2 separate regions of the Homo sapiens genome follow, and region 2 is linked to region 1. Evidence: promoter capture Hi-C in human tissues and cell types (Jung and others, 2019). All regions are on one chromosome and are shown on one strand. The core of a region is centred on a gene start or on the middle of the fragment in contact, and the rest is flanking DNA. Distances in the headings are between cores, read along the strand shown. Region 1 holds the start of CCDC112 (coiled-coil domain containing 112). Region 2 has its middle 46 kb from the start of FEM1C.

What was found. The method cuts DNA at HindIII sites, captures the fragments that hold promoters and counts their contacts. A contact is called where the count stands out against the background at its distance.
Region 2: a contact is called between a fragment that was not itself captured here and the fragment with the promoter of CCDC112 in region 1, in 1 of the 25 tissues and cell types used here (H1 embryonic stem cells).

What each region holds. Positions count from the first base shown.
Region 1 is chr5:115,293,765-115,300,102 of GRCh38, reverse strand. CCDC112 (coiled-coil domain containing 112) reads left to right here and starts at 3,449. Exons shown (of 10, transcript NM_001040440.3): 1 at 3,449-3,676. The coding sequence starts at 3,560. LOC105379129 (a long non-coding RNA gene) reads right to left here and starts at 3,175. Exons shown (of 5, transcript XR_948684.3): 1 at 2,755-3,175. RefSeq lists a silencer at 3,351-3,800. The HindIII fragment of the contact is 13,864 bases long and covers 1-6,338 here.
Region 2 is chr5:115,495,523-115,501,860 of GRCh38, reverse strand. No RefSeq gene overlaps it. Among named protein-coding and RNA genes, the nearest start is that of FEM1C, 46 kb to the left of the region's middle. The HindIII fragment of the contact is 5,940 bases long and covers 457-6,338 here.

The DNA.
Region 1 (6,338 bases), core at 2,200-4,699:
TATTCTTATAAGAGGAAAGTTTGGACACAGAGACACAGATATGTGTTGTGCAACGATGGAGGTAGAAATTGGAGTAATGCTTCTACAAGCCAAGGAGTCTCAAGATTGCTGGCAATCATCAGAAGCTGGGAGAGGGGCATGGAACAGATTTTCCCATTAAGCCCCCATGAAGAAACCAGACCTGCCCACACCTTGGTTTTGAACTTCTGGCCTACTACACTATGAGAGAATAAATTTCTGTTGTTACAAACTACCCAGTTTATGGCACTTTGTTATGCAGCCCTAGAACACTAATATAATATGCTAGATGTTTTTGTAAGAAAAAAAGAAAAATAAAAATGTATTTGTCTATTTACCTTTTTTTCTTTTGCAAATGAAACATAAAAGAACCAGAAATTAACACAATTATTTACCATAGAGGATTAGTTGAAAGGCCATGGAGAGGATATGTTGGGGAGTAAGCCTTCTTTAAACATACCTTGTCATAGAGTTTTGACTTTATACATGTTATACATAACTTACTTATTTTTTAAAAAAAGTAAATTGAAAGAAAACAAAACAAAAAAGGAAACATTGAAATTGAACACAAATGTAATCAAAAGAACTGAAATATATATCAAATTGATTCCATAGCACATAGAGAAAAGGGTGATTTCAGAAAACTTCTGAACACAGTACTCTAGATATCCAGTGCAGGATATACTCTAAAAACAATAGGAAGTGCAAAATGATCTTAGGCTTCTCTTTATTTTTAGTGGCAGTATTAAAATTGTAAAAGACCACTCAACTCAAATCGTTGGTTGACTTGCTTTTTTTCCGAGGCTGCAAGATAATTCTGGACTAATAATTACAGGAATTCAGACAGTGCTATAGTAACAGGGCTCATTTGGATAAAAGGTAATACAAAAATTAAAGAAGTTTTACCTTCTCAATACACCCAAGTGACTTACTTCCTCCTACTTCACACAGGGGTGGGGAGGTGGGGCCAACCATCTCCTCCCTCCAAATCTTCCAACTACCTTGTGCTGCAACCCATGTATGCAGGACTCTCTGGCCTCCCCATAGTCCCCACCCACTACCTCCCTGTGTCAGAAGAGTCTGTGCGTCTATCAAAGACCAAACCTCCCACTTATGCTCTGGACTCCATCAGCCTTACTTTCAAGAGGGTCTGACTGCCTCTGTCCTGCAGCATCAAACTTCTGTCTCCACTAAATAATTCCCAGCAGCATGAACTCCTTCTACTAGTCCCTACCTTGAAACACAACACAACAACAAAGACCCTCTTTGATCACACATCTTCCCCCAGCTACCACTTCATTTCTCTGATCACCTGCACCATAAAATCGATCAAAATCATAGCGAAAAACAGTTTCTACCTCGTCACCTCCATTATCTCCTCAATGCAGTCAGCCAGGCTTTGGTCTACCTACCCCATAAACCCACGGCCTCCCTGTTGCCAAATGCAACCATCATTTCTTTGTTACCCCTTCACTCAGCCTCTAGGCAGTGAACCACACAGCTGACCATTTTCTCCTCCTCCTCCTTCTTTCTTTTTCTTCTTATTTCTTCTCCTTCTTCTTCTCTTCCTCCTCCTCCTTCTCCTCCTCCTCCTTCTCCTCCTCCTCCTCCTTCTCCTCCTCCTCCTGCTCCTCCTTCTCCTCCTCCTCCTGCTCCTCCTTCTCCTCCTCCTTCTCCCTTCTCCCTTCTCCTTCTTCTCTCTTCTCCTTCTCCTTCTTCTTCTTTGCCTTCTTCTTCTCCTCCATTCTTCTTCCTTCTTCTTCTTCTCCCCTCTTCTTCTTCTCTTTTTTTTTTTTTTTTTTTTTTTTTTTTTTTTTTTTTTTTTTTTTTTGTTGAGACGAAGTCTCACTCTGTCACCAGGCTGGAGTGCAATGACACGATCTTGGCTCACTGCAACCTCCGACTCCCTGGTTCAAGCAATTCTCCTGCCTCAGCCTCCCGAGTAGCTGGGACTACAGACAGGCGCCACCACGCCCAGCTAATTTTTGTATTTTTAGTAGAGATGGGGTTTCACCATGTTGGCCAGGATGGTCTCCATCTCCTGACCTCGTGATCCGCCCACCTCGGCCTCCCAAAGTGCTGGGATTACAGGCGTAAGCCACCACGTCCGGCCTCTTCTGCAAAAACTTCCCTCCACAGACTTCCGGTTTTCCTCCCTTCTCACAGATCTCTCCATATTGGTCCCCTTCTCCTCTTGTCCGTGGTCACCTTCTCGGAGTGGCCTAGGCTTAGTTCTCAGACTTCAATTTATACTCACCCTGGGTGAGCTCATTCAGTCTTATTTCAAATATTTTCTATAGGAAGATCAAATTCGTATCTTTAGCTCTCTCTCTCCTGGGCTCCAGAGGCGTTTATCCCGCTGCCTGTTTAATACCTCTACCAGGATGGTCTCTGGAGTCAGGCTGTCTAGATAGGTATCCTACCCTCTACCTGTGTGGCCATGTGATCCTTAACTTTATCACTGAAATGGAGATGATAATAGTACCTACTTCATGAAGTTATTTGTGAAGATTAAATGCAAAAGTGCATATAAAGCACTTATAACAGCCCTGGCATAAAGGAATTGCTCAATAAATACCTATTTGTTTACTTGTTAAAGGTGAAGGAACCTTACCTATGTGTCTAATTCAACAATGAATTCCCAAGGCCTAGAACAGTGCCTGACATATGCTAGGAGCTCCATATTGACTGACTGAATGAATCGATTTCTATAAAGGGGGAAAAGGTAGTACCTACAGAAATCAGCTCAGTTGCCACAGGTTGTCTTGACTGGAAGCGTCATCTGTGGCTTTTTTCCAACTTCCCAGCACTGTATTTTTGGAATCTGTCTTCTCATTGACCAAGTCCTAGGAATGTAACTGTGGCATTCCTGCCTCTGATATCTGGTTCTGTGGAGCAAGCTGGGTTTTTTTCTTTAAAAATCTAAAATATGATTTATTGTTAGAATCCATTGATAATGTTTTTTCATTTAGACTCAGTCTCAGCAGCGCTAAGTAGAAACCTAGAAAGCGGATGTATATTAGGTAAAAATATGTATATATTGACTATAACACGAATAAAATTTAAGGACGATGTAAGACAATGAATTTTCTTGACAGGTATGGGACTGGGCTGGCACAGTCGGTTAAGTGCCCAAAGGGTATATAAACCCGCGACAGGGCAGAGCGCAGCCCCCGCCCCGCCCCGCCCCGCCCCCACACCCGCCCGCCCCAGAACCCCAGACCCGCCCCTCCCCTGCATCCCGGCTCCGCCCGGCACCTTGCCCCTCCCTCGCCCCGCCCCTCCCCGCCTGAATCCCGGCCCCCGCCTCGCATTTCGGCCCCGCCCTGCACCCCAGTCCCGCCCCTCCCGCACCCCCGCACCCCTGCACCCCCGCATCTCAGCCCCGCCCTGCATCCCGACCCCGCCCTACATCTCGGCCCCGCCCTGCATCCCGGCCAAGCCCGCAGCGCAGGGAGCTGTCTGCAGAGGCCAGGGTGCGCCTGCCACGAATCCCCAGGCACCGGTGGCCGCCGCGGCCCGAGTAGCTCGGCGGGTAAACATGGCCGCACTGACGACGGTTGTGGTAGCGGCTGCGGCCACCGCGGTAGCCGGGGCTGTGGCAGGGGCGGGCGCGGCCACCGGGACCGGCGTGGGAGCGACGCCAGCGCCTCAACAGGTAAATCCGGGAGAACCGAGAGCTGCTCTGGCGGCAGGCGAGGGGCTGCAGGCCCTGGCTGAACAGGTGCCCTCTGCAGCGCCGGCGGGAGGCGCGGCGTTCGCCTCCCCTGCTCGGGGCCTGGCACGCGCTGGGCGTTGCTCTTTGTTGGCTTGTGCGTTTAACAGCTTTTGCAGAGCCGCCTCCATGTGGTTTCGGAGTCGAGGAAGACCTGGGTGGGAACCCGGCTCTGCCGCTTCCTAGCCGCGTGATAAGAACATATGCTGTCGGCGACTCACTTTCTTCTCTAAAAATTGGGAATAGTAACATGCACCTCCCGAGCTTTGGACTAACGTTATGTCTGGGGAGCCCCTGGCACAGTGCTTGATTGGAGGGGGACTCTGTGCTCAGTAATTGGTGGCAGCTCTGTTACTGTACCGGCGCTGGGAACACAAGGAGAAAGACAATATGGGATGGTCGGAGGCAGAGGTGTTTCCAGTGATCGGCTTAGGACCGCTTTCTAGGTGGTGAGGACAAGGTATCTTTGTTCAGATGTTATCAGCTCAGCGAGACTTTCCATGATCTCCCTAAAATGAATCGCCTTACGCGGCACACCCAGTCCCTGTTTCTGGTTTTATTTTTCCCCATAGCACTTAGTACCATATATTATATTACATACTTTATTTCTATTGTTTATGTTTCTCCTCACACCCCTCACCCTCCCTCGCACCCCCATGAGAATGTAAGCTCCATGAGGGCAGAAAGTATTGGAAATTTTATTCTTTATTGTATTCCCAGCACCAAGAACTATGCCTGTTGTGTAGTGCCTGGAACGTAGTATGCACTTACTAAATAATTTGTGGATCAATATAAACCTGAAGGAAGGCTGTCATGAGCTGAGGAGAGGTTCCATCTTTTTCCTCCTTTAAGGAAATACAGTGTCTTTACTCGTAGACCTTCAGGAAATTCCACCTACGGCAAATTTTCTCACACATCCTCTATAATTCTCTTTATTATTCTAACTCTGTCCCAAGTATCTCAGGAAAAAATGTAAAATATATAAATATACATAATACGTAAAGTATTTTTAAGTACTATGCTCAAAAAAATGTGTGACACCATGTTGCTGGCTTTCTCCATCATTTCTCTAAATTCTTGTAGCAATGTTCTGTCTTCTGATCTGCATTTCTTGCGAGTTGCCTAATGTTGTTATTGATGCACACTTTTGTGATGTTTGCCTTCTCAGGGGTTGGATCAGATCACCTGTGGAGCTCTTTCAGATATTTTATCAATCCCCTAGAGGATATCTAGCAATGTTTGGAGACATTTTTGGCTGTCAGAGTGGGGAGCAGGGGGGTGTTGAGGGGCTGCTAGCATCTAATGGATACAGGCCAGAGAACAGCCACCCATAACAAAAATCATCTGGTCCAAAAGTTAGTAGTGCTGAGATTGAGAACCATGGTGTATACTGTCTTACCACTTTAGTAGGGAAAGCAGAGCCTCATTGTTGAGAATCTACCTCAGCATAGTTAGGTAGAATTCTTCACGTGTGTTTGGGCTTTTTTAAAAAAACAAAACAAAACAATGCAGCATTACTGCATGCTATATTGTGATAATGTTTAGGAGTTTACATGTTATCCATTTTTGTACTTCCCCCAGCATACCACACGCACATACCTATACACACAAATTCTACAGCCTAACACCGAACTTGAATATTTGTCATATGATTAAATGAACGAATATTCCTACTGACTTTAACACTGAAACCAACTAGTATTTTCTTGAGAAGAGAGAATTTTCCTGGTGGCAATCTCATGATACTAGAGATGTCTACCAAAATATCTAAAGTTCCTGTCAGCTAGGGCTTCTATAACAAAATGCTACAGACTTGGTGGCTAAAACAACAAAAGTTTATTTTCTCACAGTTCTAGAAGCTAGAAGTTCAAGATCAAGTTGCCCTTAGGGTTGGTTTCTGGTGAGGCCTCTTTTCCTGGCCTGTAGGCAGCCACCTTCTCACTGTGTCCTCACATAGTCTTTTCTCTGTTACAAGAGGAGAGAAAGAGATCTCTGGCATCTCTTCTTATAGGAACACTAGTTCTATCAAATTAGGTCCCCACCTTAATGACCTCATTTAACATAAAGACCCCATCTCCAGATAGAGTTATTTGGGGATCAGGCCTTCTACATAGGAATTTTGAGGGAACACAATTCAGTCCATCACAGTGTCTTTAAATTACTTTGGAGTAAATATCTCTGAAGTTTTAAAACTATTTTATATTGTATTTTATTTTACAATATCCTCAGGGCGTGGAATCTCATAAATTCCTCACTCATTATGAAAAGTTAACACATTTTCCATACTTTTTAATATTTGTATATTATTTGTTCATAACCCCTCTTAGCTATTGCCTTTCAAAACTGAAGACCGCAAATCTCTATCCTCCTCTCCAATGTCATTTCCTTCTTGTTACCATCTGTTCTCTTGATCATTGTAGTTGCTGAATTATGACTTTTTTGAAGTATCTTTAACAGTATCACATTAGTGTGATGCTGGTTTTGTACCAGCATAAGGCTCTGTCTTCTGTTTTGTTTCTAAGGACCTTCCCTCTGATGACCTGAATTTTATGTTCCTTGGCTGCCTGAAATAACCCTTCAATAATAACTATTTTCACCTGTGACT
Region 2 (6,338 bases), core at 2,177-4,676, 200 kb before region 1:
AAGCCTGAATATCCCTCAGCTTCTCTAGCATGTAGTAAGGGCACAGCCCATTAACATTAACATCTGAATGTGTTAACTCTGAAGCACCACTACTGCAGAGGACTTTGCCAGTTCTGGAGCATTGCAGAGTTTGGGGACAGCTCTATCAGTCCTGGACTACAAATATATTTTTTCCCAGGGCACAAACATGCCCCCACATAGTTGGGTCAGGATGGATTCAAATATTGTTTATCTGAAACCACTTGTCTCTGACATGCAAGTCTTGCTGCCGACTCTGCCAGGCTGCCTCAAAGTGGTAAATTCACTCTTACAGGCCTCTCTGATCCCATAAGCTGGCTTCTGTCAAAGTCCTAAAGGCTGTCAGCCTTGTCTGTATATGTCTGGACCCAACTGTAGACACATTTTTTTTTCCAGCTTACATTTAGATCAGTAGACATAAATAGATATGAGGAGAAAGGGGTGTGGTCCAACTCCAAATACATATTTAAGTATTAGCTCCATTCTGGCTAAAATGCTTTAGTTGGAATGACCACACATTGGTCCCAGTTTTGTCCCCTGGCGACACATCTCCTTTTTACTCTGTAGTCAGAACACAACTTTGTTCTAATACTAACTCTATTTTTATGAAAATGTGATTAAATTGCAACCTAGACATTGACGAACAAGACTATTTCTTTGTAAATGAATCTCCTGAATATAAACCCAGCTGAGAGGCTACCAGAAGACCAGTGTTTTCAATGTTGGTGGAGAAGCAGGTTTCAGAACACTGTGTAGATGCTGCTCTTTAAAAATCTCTGATGGGAAATTGGCCACAAGAGAATATTCAAGTTAGTCCAAAGAAAGAGGATTACAGAATAGAAAGTCCAGAAATAAATCCATGCATCTACAGCCAAGAAAATCTACTGATTTTCAACAAAGATGTCAAGAACACGCAATGGAGAAAGGACAGTCTCTTCAATAAATGATGCTCAGAAAATTGGATATCCACATGCAGAAGAATGAATCTGGACCCCTGTCTTTCACCATATAGAAAATTCAACTCAAAATGGGTTAAAGACAAATGTAAGACCCAAAACTATAAAACTCCTGGAAGAAAACACATGGGAAATGCTTCATGACACTAGACTGGGCAATTACTTTTTTTTGGATAAGACCAAAAGCAACAGCAAAAAATTAGACAAATGGGAGTATATCACACTGAAAAGTTTCTGCACAGCAAAGGAAACAATCAGCAGAGTGAAGAGAACCTACAGAATAGGAGAAAATATCTGCAAACTATACATCTGAAAAGGAGTCAATAGTCAGGATATATAAGGAACTCAGTAGCAACAAACCCACCCCCAAAAGTCCCAAATAATCCAATTAAAAATGAGCAAAAGACCTGAATAGACATTTCTCAAAAGAAGGCATGCAAAGGGCCAATATGCATATGAAAAAAATGCTCAACATCACTAATCATCAGGGAAATGCAAATCAAAACCACAATGAGATACCACTTCACTATAGTTAGAATGGCTATTATCAAAAAGACAAAAGATACAAGTGTTGGCAAGGATATGAAGAAAAGTAAACCCTCACACACAGTTGGTGGGAATGTAAACTAGTATAGCCACTGTGGAAAACAATATGGAGGTCCCTCAAAAAATTAAAAATAGAACTACCATATGATCCAGCAATCCTGCTGCTGGGTATATATCCAAAGGAAATAAAATCAGTATGTCAAAGAGATGCCTCACTCTCATGTTTATTGCAGCACTATTCACAATAGCCAAAATATGGAATCAACCTAAATGTTCAAAAACAGATGAATGGATAAAGAAAATGTAGTACTTGCACACAACAGAATACTATTTGGCCATTAAAAAAAATGAAATCCTGTCATTTGTGACAACATGGGTAAACCTGGAGGACATAATGTTACATGAAATAAGTCAGACACAGAAATATAAATGCTACATGTTCTTACTCATATTTTGGATCTTAAAAAGTTGATCTCATAGAAATAGTGAATAGAATAGGGGTTAACAGAGGCTGAGAAGGGAAGGATTGGAGAGAGGTTGCCCAGTAGGTGCAAAGTTAAAATTAGAAAGAATAAGTTAGGTATCCTATTGCACAGTAGGGTGATTATAGTAAACACTAAGGTATATCTTAAAATACTTAGAGGATTTTGAATGTTCCCATCACATAGAAATGATAAATGTTTGAGGTGATGGATGTGCTACATGATGATTTGATCATTATGTAATGTATATATATTTTGAGACATCACTTTATACCTCATAAATACATATAATTATTATGTGTTAGTTAAAACAAAAAAGATTAATACGGGGCATGGCCCAACCTCTTTAAAGCTTTGCTTTCTACTTTAAGAAGTGAAAAACTGAATAAATAATATTCTGGAGGGGATTAGCTTATTCAGAACATGGCTGGCAAATCTCGAGTATTTTTAGCTTTCTATTTCTTTTTTATTTTAGCTTTCTATTGTGGATTACATATGTCCCCCCAAAATCCATTTATTGAAATCAAATCCCCAATGTGGTGGTATTTGGAGGTGGGACCTTTGAGAGATGAGTGGGTCATGAGGTGGAGCCCTCATGAATGGGATTAGTGCCCTGATAAAAAAGACCCTAGAGAGCTCCCTCACCCCTTCTGCCATGTGAGGACACAGTGAGAAGACACATCTAAAAACAAGGAAGTGGGCCCTAACCAGATACCAGATATAGTGGCACCTTGATCTTGGACTTCCCAGCCTCCAGAACTCTGAGAAATACATTTCTTTTGTTTAAGCCCTCTAGTCTATGATGTTTTTGTTATGGCAGCCCTAATGGGCTAAGACATCTGCTGTTTGCACAGACTAGGACATAACATCTTTTGTCCTGATTTGTTTCATTAGAAAATTCAGTAGCTATAACTTTTAAAAATGTATTTTTAATCCTGAGGAGGACTGGTTACACAAATCTGCACAAATGATATTTTTGGCCACTGGGCTCTAGTAAGAAATTGAGGACACCACTGAACAGAGATTCTCAGCAGACATGAACCACTCTGTGTGCAAATCTTTTTTTTCCTCCTCTGTAGTGCAATGTTCTTTCATCTCTTTCCCAAGCCCCTCATCCCCTCACAGAATCATAAACTTTGTACCTCCAAGAATTACATGTGCATACCAGCATTCACATTTTCTCCTCAAAAATGAAGTTTCTAGTATTTATAAGAATACTTACGCTTTTATAGTATTTGTGATGATATCATTTGTTATTAAATTTTGATCATTTAATTATAAACTGCTTGAGAAAGGGATAATATCACAAATAACTGTTAGGCTTATATGTTTTAGATAACATCCTGCGCTTAAAGAACTATAATTATTTGGTGAAGGGGTAAAAATAATAAATGCATTATATCTATACATTAACATATTGTTTGAAAGTAAATTGCTTTCTTTTAAAAAGGGACTATATACTTAGTATAAACGGTTTTTTAAAATATTTTACAAAAATGAATGTCATTGTAATTTCACTATTCACATATAACCACTACTAAAATTTTGATGTGTTTAGTCTCTGATTACTGGAAAATCACAGTAAACAACTGTTTTTGTAAGTGGAATGTTTCTGGTATAATTGTATTGTTTCTAGCTCTTATCTCACTGCAATTATGTGTTAATAGATACAAAGAAGCTAATGTTATTTCTCATATTTATTTTATTTAAAGAGAATCCTCTCTGGATTCAGGGGTGAGTGGCTTCATTGACATTACTGTTTAAATTCGAAAGGTGCCTGCAGAAGCTAAGGTTCATCACTCAGGAGAAGCAACCCCAACCCTACCCTATTGAACTTCAGGGTTTGAGGATGTGCCGTAAGTGAAAAACAAAACAAAACAAAAAACCCCACTAAAGCAATTATTTGAATGATTGAGAAGGTTTTCTTTGTGTGTTTCTTACCTTTTGCTTTGGTGATCAGGCAAAGTTGTTTTGAGATCTGAGTTATCTGGAAGCTCTTCACTTTTCTACTTTTGTGGCTTTCACTAATGGGCTAAAAATGTTCCCGTTGTGTCAATCACTAGACAACCTTTCCAAATGCTACTTTTTCCTCCCAAAAATGTAGTTTAGCCATCGTTGGGCTGAAACTCCCCTCCCTTGAAGGTGAAGGGCTCTAGGCCTCAGGATTCTCTTGGAAGATGCTATAAACTGTTTTGCTTAGCACCCATTCCAGCCATCTTTTAGCTTGGCTTCCAGTTCAAAGAGGGTAGAGAGCTAAACATTCATTTTTCCACATCCCTTGAAGTGGGGGTTCTGCATGTGACCTTGCTTCAGCTAAGGTGATGGTTCTTTGTGAGACTCGGAGGTGGAGTATAGTAAGGCATTGGCTGGGCACAGGAGTGGGATGGGAAACAGTTCTTTTGACAGGCATGGTGCTAGAGCCATCTGTTCTTTGGGGGCAGCCGAGGCAGCGTTTCTGGCATCAGCCCTTATCAATGTAGATGCAGTGCCACAGACAGCAGGAGTGTGTGTTCTGCCAAAACAGTCATGTGGTGTGGGGTGGCTTTCTCCTAGGGCTCAGGTCTCTGGTCCTCCCAGATTCTATAAGCTTCTCAGATCTTTTCATGAACCCCTTTGTTTACCCTAGACAGAAAGGACTCACTTGACTGCAAATAAGAACTGGACTGTAGAATAAGATGTATGGACTAGAGCCATGGGAGTTGGCAGACGTTTGAATTTGTTGGATAGTAAAATTTCAACAAAATATTTTGGAACTTTGTTAAAGTTGCCAACATTTTGTTTTTCCAAGAAAGGATTTTAACAATACACAATTTATTATCACTATAACTTAGCTAAAGAAATGTTTCGAAGACTAAAAGATGGAAAGAACATACACTCAGAAAAAAATAATTTTCAAGTTGAAATAATCTTACTTGATGAAAAATCTCACAGTAAATCCTTATGTCTTCTTTTTATTGTCCTTGGTAAAACTCATTCATAGAAAATTATTGGGAAACCATTGGTCTAGGAGGGGTCAGCAAGCTTCACTCCACCACTGGCTATTTTTGTAATAAAGTTTCGTTGGGATACGGTCTTGCTTATTCATTTACATAATGTCTATGGCTGCTGTAATGCTGCAGTGACAGACTTGAGTAGTCAAGGCAGTGACCATATGGCCTATAAAGCTGAAAATATTTACTGTCTGGTTCTTTAACAAAATAAGTTTGCCAACTCTGAATGACCTAAGGGATTCCTTCTATCTAGATGATTCTAAAAATCCTTGAGTGATACCTTTAAGGATTTGCTTAATAGATCCACTGTTTGCACTCCCAAAGTCGATGGGAAATTCATTCCTTCAGCAAACATTTACTGAATCCCTATTATGTGCCAGGCTCTCTTCTGGGGACTGGGAATATAGGAATGAATTAGAAAAACAAGTTTCCTAAGTTCATACAATGCATGTTCCAGTGAGAGGAGACAGACAGTAACAAGTAAATGAATAAATAAATAATATTATTTTATGTAGTAATGAATGTTTCCATGAAAAACCAATAGGTGCTTTACTGAAGACTGATCCAAGGGGAGGGTGACTGTGTCCTCATTTAGGAGAGGTGCTCAGGGATAATTTTCAGCTCTTCATTTCTCTTTCTGTGGAATGGGTTTGACCACAAAAGAGTATAGTTAGAGATCGTGTGTAAGTACTTATGCCAGGGCCAATTCATGATAGTGCGGTGAGGGGTGGGGGTCAGGAAAAGGAGCATAAATACATAACCCAGAGAACATAGTCACAGGTTACAAAAATTTGAAGTCCTCAATCTTGGAAAAATAGGTCAAATAACAGAGCTACACAACTAAATCCTAGCTGTGTGTTTTAGACTTTTTTTCTACAGCAGAACACAAAAATAAGTTGAAGAAAAAAAAATAACTTACCTCACATAGAACATTGTGATATAGTTTTGAAGAGTTGGGAGCAACACATGCTTTTGTGTGTTTTCTATATGCTTTATATCTTTTTATAAAGCTGCACTGTAGGAGGTGGGGACATGCTCTCATAAGGATGGAAAACTCCTAAAGAGAAAATTAACAGTGATACTGAATTGGCAGACAGAAGTATTATAGTAACCCTCTTCTCAGGAGAGAAATCTTATTTATTTTTCTGTTTTTCCTTGTTTAAATATAAGGTATGTTTTCCTTTAGTTTATTTTAGCAAATTCATGACACAAAATAAACCAGCATAATTAAACTCATTTATCCCAATCTAAATCTCTGGTCAGCAAAGTTTTCAAAGCCAAAACCAAATGAAACCAAAAATACCCTTAGTCTGAACTTTAATACCAATATAATTTCTTTTCAGGAA